Linked DNA regions of Homo sapiens: region 2 is linked to region 1. The links are contacts of gene promoters, found by promoter capture Hi-C in blood cells and fetal thymus (Javierre and others, 2016). All regions are on one chromosome and are shown on one strand. The core of a region is centred on a gene start or on the middle of the fragment in contact, and the rest is flanking DNA. Distances in the headings are between cores, read along the strand shown. Region 1 holds the start of CLEC18B (C-type lectin domain family 18 member B). Region 2 overlaps RFWD3 (ring finger and WD repeat domain 3).

Region 1 (4,974 bases), core at 1,030-3,529:
CTTCTCTTCTGGCCCATGAACCTTGCTCTCCTGGGACTCTTTTTTTTTTTTTTTGAGGGGTCGGGGGTGGGACAGAGTCTCGCTCTGTTGCCCAGGATGGAGTGCAATGGTGCCATCTTGCTTCACTGCAACCTCCGCCTCCCAGATTCAAGCAATTCTCCTGCCTCAGCCTACCGAGTAGCTGGGACTACAGGCACCCACCACCCTGCCCAGCTAATTTTTGTATTTTTAGTAGAGACAGGATTTCACCATGTTGGCCAGGCTGGTCTCAAGCTCCTGACCTCAAGTGATCCGCCTGCCTTGGCCTCCCAGAGTTCTGGGATTACAGGCATGAGCCATCACACCCGGCCTGGGACTCTTCTTGCAGTGAGCCAGGGCCATGGGACCCTTCAAAAGTTGCTCCACCCTAATCCCCAAAATATCTTTTTCTCCCGCCTGTCCCAAGTGCCTGGCATCATACTATATGGGTCAACTGGCCGTGTTTGCCATGGAAGCCCAATTGTAGGAAGTGGGTCTTTTATCACCCGGCATAGCAGAGCTGTGGAAACTGCACTGGGAAAGATCAGGATGTGAATTAAAGCGTTGGGAATGGGAAGGCAGAGACCTTGGATTAGCTGGGATGCTCCATGCACTCGCTGAGTGACCTTGGACAAGCCCCTTAGACACACTAAGCCCGTTTCCTCATCTACACGACGGGCATCCCATCTGCTACTGCACCAGGTTCTTGTGGCAATAACTTGAACTCACACATGCAAACAGGCTTTGTGAGCTCCATAAACACAGGTGGCTCGGCCAGGTGTGGTGGCTCATGCCTGCAACCCCAGCACTTTGGGAGGCCAAGGTGGGAAGATCCCTTGAGCCCAGGAGTTGGAGACCAGCCTGGGCAAGACGATGAAATCCTGTCTCTACCAAAAAAAATAATAATAATTAGCCAGGCATGGTGGCACACACCTGGTCCCAGCTACTTGGGAGGCTGAGGTGGAAGGATCACTTGGGCCCAAGAGGTCAAGGCTGCAGTGAGCTGAGATTATAACACTCCAACCTGAGTGGCAGAATGAAACTGTCTAAAAAATAAAAATAAAAATACATCAAAAAACAGGTAGCTATTAAGCATTGCTAGGACCCACACGCAGTGACCCTGAGGGTGCTGGGTTTCTGTTTGAGGGAGAAGAAACTCCTGAGCCCCTAGGTATTGTGGGGGACATGCAGTTCCAGACCGCCTTCATGGCCTGTATGCCTGGCCTCATCCCCATCCCTGGCACCCATGACGATAGCCACATTCCACTGGTGTTTCCCCAGGAAAGCCAACCCTACCTGCATCTCAGCAGAGCTTCCACGGAGTTGGAACCCCGCTCCGAGAGGGTGTGGGCTCAGGGGCCAGGGGTCACACAAACTCCAGAAGGAGGACGTAGTTGGTTTGCAAGGCTGTCCTTTGCCCTGGTTGAATAACCTTCGGTCTGCCCCGAGAGGAACGTGGGCATTAGGCTGCAGCCCGCAGGAAGCCATGTATTTTCTGAGAAACTTGGCCCATGGTGCAGATCTGCTCCAGCTCACTCTGGTGGGATCACGCCAGCCACGGCCGGGCCACGGCACATCATGGCAACGTGCTGCCCACCTGCTACGCCGCCTGTTTTTCTAGAGGCGGACGTGATCCCAGCAGGACTGGAGTCAGCCCAGGGCATCACGTGCTCTGGTCCCCGCCTGCTTTGACTCCTCCTGCCTCACTCCCCCCCTGGCCTGTAGTCACGTGGGTGAGGGTGGTGGGCACCGGGGCTGGGCCCAGCCCCCGACCCTGCCCAGACAGACTTTCCTAAGGCACCCTTTTCCTCGTGCAGGTGCGGCCTCAGCCCACCCCCCTTTGAGCCCACAGATTGCACCCCTCTGGTGTGCGGTTACCTCTTGCCTATGTTTAATTCATGGCTGGGGGGTTGGGACGAGCTTCCCAAGAAAGGAAAGAACTCCCCTGGGGTCTTGCCCAGTTCCTGCTCACCAGAAGGACCATAGCCGAGGTCCTCCTCCCAGGGCCCGGGGCTGGGGAGCGGAAGCCATCAGTGGGCTCGGAGGACACTGTCCCAGCCAGGACACGGCCATCGGTCACTAATCTGCAGCACCGGAATGTCCCCAGGCCAATCAGCGGGGTCTCTGGGGGCTCCCCAAGGGTGCTAATAATCCCACAATGATTAGCAGGGGCCGCGGGGCAGTGCACGCCACTCTGCCTGCTGTCGGGGGCGGGCTGGCCAGGCCGAGGCCGGAGCAGGCAGGCATCCCCGGGAGTTGTCTCTTTTCATGCCAGCGCCAACAGGAGGCTGTCTGGACACACTGATTACTCACTCACCAGCCTCCTTCTTTTGTTCACCAGCCCCCCTCTTTTGTCCACCAGCCCAGCCTGACTCCTGGAGATTGTGAATAGCTCCATCCAGCCTGAGAAACAAGCCGGGTGGCTGAGCCAGGCTGTGCACGGAGCGCCTGACGGGCCCAACAGACCCATGCTGCATCCAGAGACCTCCCCTGGCCGGGGGCATCTCCTGGCTGTGCTCCTGGCCCTCCTTGGCACCACCTGGGCAGAGGTGTGGCCACCCCAGCTGCAGGAGCAGGCTCCGATGGCCGGAGGTAAGGGACACCTGGTGAGGAGGTAGGTGGAGGCACCATTATGAGCTCTGAGGAGTGGGTGCTAGGAGACTTCTGGAAGCCCGGTCCCAGGCCTGAGCCCCAGGCCGTGCGGGTGGTTTAATGAGGAAGCCCTGGGACAGCCCGGGGGCGGTGAGGGGTGGATGCTGGACTGGGGAGGAAGGAGGAGGAAGGAGGAGGAAGGAGGACCAGGGCTGGGGTCAAGGAGGAACGCCGAGGAGCGCTGTGGCTGGGGCCTGGAGAAATCCGTGGCCCGGAGGAGCCCCAGACAGGGGCCTGCGGGAGCCAGGGCTGGCCCCTACACCCAGCCCGCACCGCTGTTCCCTCCCGCCACCCCAACCCCAGCACTCAGCCCACGCCTGCTGTACCTGGTCTCTCTCTCAGCCTCGCTCCATTGCTATGCCCCACGTCCCCTGCACCCACCACACTCCTCTCCCATCTTGTTTTCCAAGGGCAGGGACACATGCTTATTCTGCCGTGTGTTGGGTTCAGGTCCCCCCATCCTCGGGCTGCCTGACCTTCTCTCCCCACCCCAGCCCTGAACAGGAAGGAGAGTTTCTTGCTCCTCTCCCTGCACAACCGCCTGCGCAGCTGGGTCCAGCCCCCTGCGGCTGACATGCGGAGGCTGGTGAGTACCCGACCCAGCTGGGCTCTGCCAGGGGGGTGGCCGGAGGCGCGGACCCCAGAGGGCGGCTCAGGAGGCCACGCCTGTCCAGGTGCCCTTCCACTTGACCAGGGTGGGCAGGCACAGCCAGCCACCTTGCCCCTGAGGGACGGAGGCCCTGGTTGCTGGGGGTCTCTGCAGTTTCTTAACCCCCCACCCTCAGTTCAGGAGGTCGGGCCCCTTGGCTCCCACTCGCCTGAAGGGCAGGACCTTGGGCCTTCCCTGGCATCTTGTTGCCACAGAGACCAGGAGCCACAGGAGGAGCCGGATCCCCTCCTCCAGGGAAGGGGAGCTTCACGAGGAGCCCTGCAGGATGGGCGGCCGGGCCAGGGAGGGAGAAGGTCGTGCTGGGCTGGGGAGGGGCTTCTGTGCGGCAAGGACCCAGCGCCTCCTCCTGAGCTTATCTGAGCCACTAGGACGGGCCTTGCCCATGTTCTCTGCTCACTCACTCGTCCACATTTTCCACATTTTCAGCAGGGGCCAGGGGTCGGGGGTATAGAGTTCCCCACCAGCCCGGCTGGGGCTGCGGGGTTGGGACTGTCATCTGGAGGCTCAGAAACGCTGCCCTCCATTGTCTGGGACCCCAGCAGCCCCAGCCCATGTTAGCAGGCCAGGGAGCCAGGGCAGGGTGGTGGGGGCGGGAGGGTTCCCCATGGCTGCTTCCCATGAACTCCTCCAAGGCAGGTGGCCACAGTGGCGACCTTGAACACTCTAGGGTCAGTTTCCCAGGAGGTGGGGGTGGGGTGGCTAAATGCGGGGGGTCGCTTCTCCCCCATTCCCAGCCCTGAGTGGCTCTGCCTCTCCTCAGGCTCAGACCCTGGGCAACCAGGGGTGCTCCCAGCTGTGACCTCCGTGGTTGGGTACTCCTGCCTGGGACCCCAGGAGGGGCTGCGGTGGTCGTTGGCTGGCAGCTGGCACCCTTTCCAGGGCCCTTTTGTCAAAGTCTTAGAAAACTTCATTTCCATAAAGGTGCAAATGGAGCTCCATGGCTCAGCCTCCCTCGTGGCCCGGCCCCGAGCACCCTCCGGGCCTCTAGGGCTCCAGGGCACCCCTTCTTTGGACACAGTGGAGACTGAAGGTCTTGTGGGGGTGGAGGGCTGCTGAGGGACCCCGGGGAGCCCCCAGCTCCTGGCCCCAGCCTTCATCAGAGGTAAAACCCCGATGGACATTAGTGCAGGATGAAGTTGGCTTGGGGTGCAGCCCCGAGGGGCCCCCCTCCCTGCATCCACTCTGTGCTTGTGAGTCCTATCCTGCAGGCACCTCCCTGCTCCGTTTACAGATGAGCTCAGGGAGTCTCGGGAGATCAGGGGACTGCACCAAGTCACCCAGGGGTGGTGATTGCCAGGCCCCTTGTTTAAGAAGAGGGAGGGGGCTGGGCACGGTGGCTCACACCTGTAATCCCAGCACTCTGGGAGGCTGACACAAGCAGATCACCTAAGGTCAGCAGTTTGACACCAGCAATGGCCAACATGGTGAAACCCCGTCTCTACTAAAAATACAAAAATTAGCCAGGTGTGGTGTCACATGGCTGTAATCCCAGCTGCTTGGGAGGCTGAGGCAGGAGAATTGCTTGAACCTGGGAGGCGGAGGTTGCAGTAAGCCGGGATTTCTCCACTGCACTCCAGCCTGGGCGACAGGGTGAGACTCTGTCTCAAAAAAAAAAAAGAAGAGGGAGGGGGCGG
Region 2 (4,974 bases), core at 1,555-4,054, 200 kb before region 1:
GCACCCGGCCCCTATTTGAAGACGTCTTTTGTAAAAGCTAGCTTCTAGAACCTGAGAAAAGCTCTTTTCTCAGAGGAGATACTCCTTTTGATATGTTAATGATTAAGAGTGGTTGCCCAGGCCTAGTTTCAGTGGCAGAATAGGATTGGAATTAAAAAGCAGAACTCATCTGGCTTCAGCAGATTGCCACCAAGAGGATACAGGTGGTCAGGTCCTGGCTGGCTTTGTCTTTGGGCCTGGGCAGGCTTAGGATTTGACTTTCTTTGAAGTACCTGATGCTGATTGATTCCACTAATAGTAGGAAGCAAGAGACTTAACTATGAGGGACGTTATGTGAATCTTAAGTCTTACCAGTCCTTGCATTAGTACATTAAATTTGGATGTTTTGGAAGCAAATTCATACGATCGTGAGTGATTTCTCCAAAGAAAAAAAGCCTTGTCCAGCCTGACCAACATGGTGAAACCCCATCTCTACTAAAAATACAAAAATTAACTGGGTGCAGTGGTGCGCATGCCTGTAGTCCCAGCTACTTGGGAGGCTGAGGCAGGAGAATTGCTTGAACCCTGGGAGGCAGAGGTTGCAGTGAGTCGAGATCGCGCCACTGCACTCCAGCCTCGGTGACAGAGCAAGACTCCATCTCAAAAAAAACAAACAAACAAAAAAAAACCCTGATGCCATTCCCAGTCCCCGTTGTAGGACATCACATTTATAAATCCAGGCTTTAGTCTTCTGGGCTCCACCAGTCTCTGCCCCACCATATTCCTTTGTCACTACCTCTAAGTTTTTTTCCCCACTTGAGGATTTGGAGTTAAACGAACTCAAAATGTCTTGTCATTGTATGTATTCTTGCCCCTGCTTTGAAAACAGGGCCATGGGAACTCTGTTTATGCCCTGTTTTAATGTTTCTGTTTTATGTTTTACTGTTAATATGAAAATAAAGAATTTGCTATGTATAATGGCTCCTAGTGCCTTTTGTCTCTTTCACTTCTAGAGGCAGGAACATGTCTGCCTCTTGGGAGAGGGATATAATCCCAACCTGGTAGATTTCTCGGGTTTGTTCGTTTGTTTGTTTTTTGAGACGGAATCTTGCTCTGTAGCCCTAGCTGGAGTGCAGTGGCGCCATCTTGGCTCACTGCAAACTCCGCCTCCTAGGTTCAAGAGATTCTCCTGTCTCAGCCTCCTGAGTAGCTGAGATTACAGGTGTGCGCCATCATGCTCGGCTAATTTTTGTATTTTTAGTAGAGACGGGTTTCAGCATGTTGGTCAGGCTGGTCTCAAACTTCTGACCTTGTGATCTGCCTGCTTCAGCCTCCCAAAGTGCTGGGATTACAGGCGTGAGCTACCGCACCCGGCCTTTTTTTTTTTTTTTTTTTTTAACTGAATCTCACTCTGTTGTCCCAGGCTGGAGTGCACTGGTTCAATCTCAGCTCACTGCAACCTCTGCCTCCCGGGTTCAAGCGATTCCCCTGCCTCATTCCTCTCCAGTACCTGGGAGTTACAGGCGCCTGCAACCATGCCTGGCTTATTTGTCTATTTTTAGTAGAGACGGGGTTTTACCATGTTGGCCAGGCTGGTCTCCAACTCCTGACCTCAAGTGATTTGTCCATCTTGACAGCCTCCCAAAGTGCTGGGATTACAGGCATGAGCCACCTCACCCAGCCATAGATTTTCTCTTTTTCACACAAATGAAGTGGTTGAGGCTTTAGCTTGCGGTTCTGTTTTGCTGTTGCCAGTGGAAAGCGATGTGTTTGCCTCTTAAGAACCCTGTGCCCTGGCCGTGTGGCTCACGCCTGTAATCCCAGCACTTTGGGAGGCCAAGGTGGGCAGATCACCTGAGGTCAGAAGTTCAAGGTCAGTCTGGCCAACAAGGTGAAACCTCATCTCTACTAAATGATATAAAAATTAGCTGGTCGTAGTGGCGGACACCTGTTACTCAGGGGGCTGAGGCAGGGGAATTGCTTGAACCCGCGAGGCAGAGGTTGCAGTTAGCTGAGATTGCACCACTGTACTCCAGCCTGGGTGACAGAGTGAGACTCCGTCTCAAAAAAAAAAAAAAAAAATGTCCTGGTCTTATGTCTATTTACTCTCAGATCTAGGGATCTACATTTCCCAGACTTGTCTGCTGGCTTCCTGCTAGTTTCTTTGAATCCAGGAGACTTTAAAGTGGGAGGAAGAGAGAGGAGGAGAGGACTTTTGTTCCCTTTATTTCTTTTAGTCATTGGTGGCACTTCTGACCGTGGCAGCAGCAATGGGCAAGTATGGGTTTCAGGGTTCCTGCTCAGTACAGTTCTGGCCACCTGCCTCAGTTTCTTTGTTCTGTTTGAGTTCAAGAATCTTCGTTGCCATAAATCATGGTGCTCTGGAATTAGGCTGGAAAGGCTGAAAATGTTTTCCAGTTTCCAGCTGAACAGCAAATGGAGTATACTGGATTCCAGGAGAACTGAATCCATAGGTATAAGCTTACTAACTTCATGGAGCCTGGTGCTCTAAGGGAAAATGACAGAGGTCCTAGGATAGAAGTGAACCCCAAATTACAAAACCCAACACCATTGTTTTTGTTTTTCACAGTACCCTTTTTTTGTTTTCCGTGTCAGTGATTGACTATAAGTGAAATTCTGAAAAAAAATTTTTTTAAGAAACGGGGTCTCACTGTCACCCAGGCTAGAGTGCAGTGGCACTATCCTATCTCGACTGCATCCTCAAACTTCTGGGCTCAGGTAATCCTGTCTCCTCAACCTCCTAAGTAACTGGGACTGTAGTTGTGGACCACTGTGCCCAGCCAATTTTTTTTTTTTTTTGCTTTTTTTTTCTTGGTAGAGACGGGGGTCTTGCTTTGTTGCCCAACTGGATTCAAACTTCTAGTTCAAGCAGTCCTCCCGCCTCAGCCTCCCAAAGCATTGGGATTGCAGGCATGAGCCACCATGTCTGGCCAAAATTCTAAAAATAGACATTTGTTTGTCCTTGTTCTTAGTCAACTTATGTTTGTTGGTAACACTCTCTGTTTTATCTCTTTATGGTTTACTAATATATTAAGTAACATCTTAGTAAATATATATTACTAATAAGTAATTCTTAATGTTATGGAATACATATTATTATTCTATCTTACGGGGGAAGAAACAGGTTAAAAATACTAATAAAGCTTGGGTGCAGTGGCTCATGCCTGTAATCCCAGCACTTTGGGAGGCCAAAGAGGATGGATCACCTGAGGTCAGGAGTTCGAGACCAGCATGGCTAACATGGTGAAACCCTGTCTCTACTAAAAATACAAAAATGATCCAGGCATGGTGGCGTAAACCTGTAATCCCAGCTTCTTTTTTTTTTTTTTTAGACGGAGTCTTGCTCTGTCTCCCAGGCTCGAGTGCAGTGGCACGATCTCAGCTCACTGCAAGCTCTGCCTCCCGGCTTCACGCCATTCTCCTGCCTCAGCCTCTTGAGTAACTGGGACTACAGGCGCCTGCCACCACACTCGGCTAATTTTTTTGTATTTTTAGTAGAGATGGGGTTTCACCGTGTTAGCCAGGATGGTCTCGATCTCCTGACCTCGTGATCTGCCCGCCTTGGCCTCCCAAGGTGCTGGGATTACAGGCGTGAGCCACCACACCCAGCCCCAGCTTCTTCTTGAACCTGGGAGGTGGAGGTTGCAGTGAGCCAAGATCGCGCCACTGCACTCCAGCCTGCGCAACGGGAGCAAGACTTCACCTCAAAAAAAAAAAAAAGAAAAAATCCTAATAAAGGAAAATGACAGATGGTATTTAATTAAATTTTATATGTCCTCGTCTTCCCAGTCTATACTTTGTGTTACCAACAGCAAAGCAGGAGTTGGAGAGCCTGGGTGAAAGCTCATTTTCACTCTTCATAGCTCTGTCTCCAGAACACCCTAGGCTAAGCCCCCACAAATTATTTCTTCTGCATTGAAAATTACAACAAAGCAGACAGTCATACTCATGATGTGGCACTACAGTCTTCAAGTAGTTTTCTGGGTGCTGAGGCTGGGAACCCCACTGTCCAATAGAAGAAAAAACGGGTTCATAGAAGAGGCTATGACACATGGGCTAGAACTGCCCAGCAGTGGTCATCGGAAAGGTCAGCTGAAGAGAGGAGGAAGGTGGAGGAGCTGTTGGGCTTGCTCTAGAAAGCAGGGTGCAGGGCCAGCTGAATAAGGAGTCTACTGTCGAGATGTGAGGAGTGCCATGAACCCACGCTGGTCCCTGAGGAGTAATAACAGGTTTATCCAGTTACAGACACCCAGCAGAAAGGCTTCCTTAGAGGCTGAACATAGGTACCAACTTAAATATCTGGATTTGGATAAAGGGAGAGTTGAAGGCTGAGGGGGAAACAAAGTTCAGGACATCACTGAACAGATGCTTGGGTTAAAAAAAAAAAAAAAATGGCCGGGCACGATGGCTCACGTCTGTAATCCCAGCACTTTGGGAGGTCAAGGCAGGTGGATCACGAGGTCAGGAGTTCAAAACCAGCGCGGCCAACATGGTGAAACCTCGTCTCTACTAAAAATACAAAAAATTAGCCAGGCGTGGTGGCAGGCACCTGTAATCCCAGCTACTTGGGAGGCTGAGGCAGGAGAATTGCTTGAACCTGGGAGGCAGAGGTTGCAGTGACCCTAGACTGTACCACTGCCCTCCAGCCTGGGCAACAGAGCAAGACTGTCTCAAAAAAAGAAAACAAAAACAAAAAACTGGCACTTTTGTTACCTAAGCCAGCTCTGTGTGAGCTGCCAACAGTTGGATAAGCTGCTGGTTAATGAAAGTTGTAAGTGGGAAGTTGGCAGGCCACTTATTTCCTGGAATAAAGAAGGGGATGCCTGCCCTGGATAAATGGTTATGCTCTGCCTTCAAACTCCAATGCCTGTAGACCCTCCCATTTAAGAGAAATGTCACCAGAGTTAAAAAGAGTGCCTCCAGGAGGGTCCAGGGGAATTCCCAGGCTTGAGCTATGGAGGGGGTGTTGAGTGA

The links. Contacts are between HindIII fragments. The CHiCAGO score rates a contact against its expected background, and 5 or more counts as called.
Region 2: a contact is called between a fragment that was not itself captured here and the fragment with the promoter of CLEC18B in region 1, in 3 of 17 cell types (endothelial precursors, M1 macrophages and erythroblasts). The highest score is 10.3, in endothelial precursors.

Annotation. Positions count from the first base shown.
Region 1 is chr16:74,418,783-74,423,756 of GRCh38, reverse strand. CLEC18B (C-type lectin domain family 18 member B) reads left to right here and starts at 2,279. Exons shown (of 12, transcript NM_001385193.1): 1 at 2,279-2,610; 2 at 3,165-3,256. The coding sequence starts at 2,487. It overlaps LOC107984827 (a long non-coding RNA gene), which reads right to left and starts at 1,637. Exons shown (of 3, transcript XR_001752253.3): 1 at 1,315-1,637. The HindIII fragment of the contact is 28,054 bases long and covers 1-4,974 here.
Region 2 is chr16:74,617,379-74,622,352 of GRCh38, reverse strand. RFWD3 (ring finger and WD repeat domain 3) reads left to right here. Exons shown (of 13, transcript NM_018124.4): 13 at 1-954. Among named protein-coding and RNA genes, the nearest start is that of GLG1, 13 kb to the right of the region's middle. RefSeq lists an enhancer at 1,093-1,592. The HindIII fragment of the contact is 683 bases long and covers 2,463-3,145 here.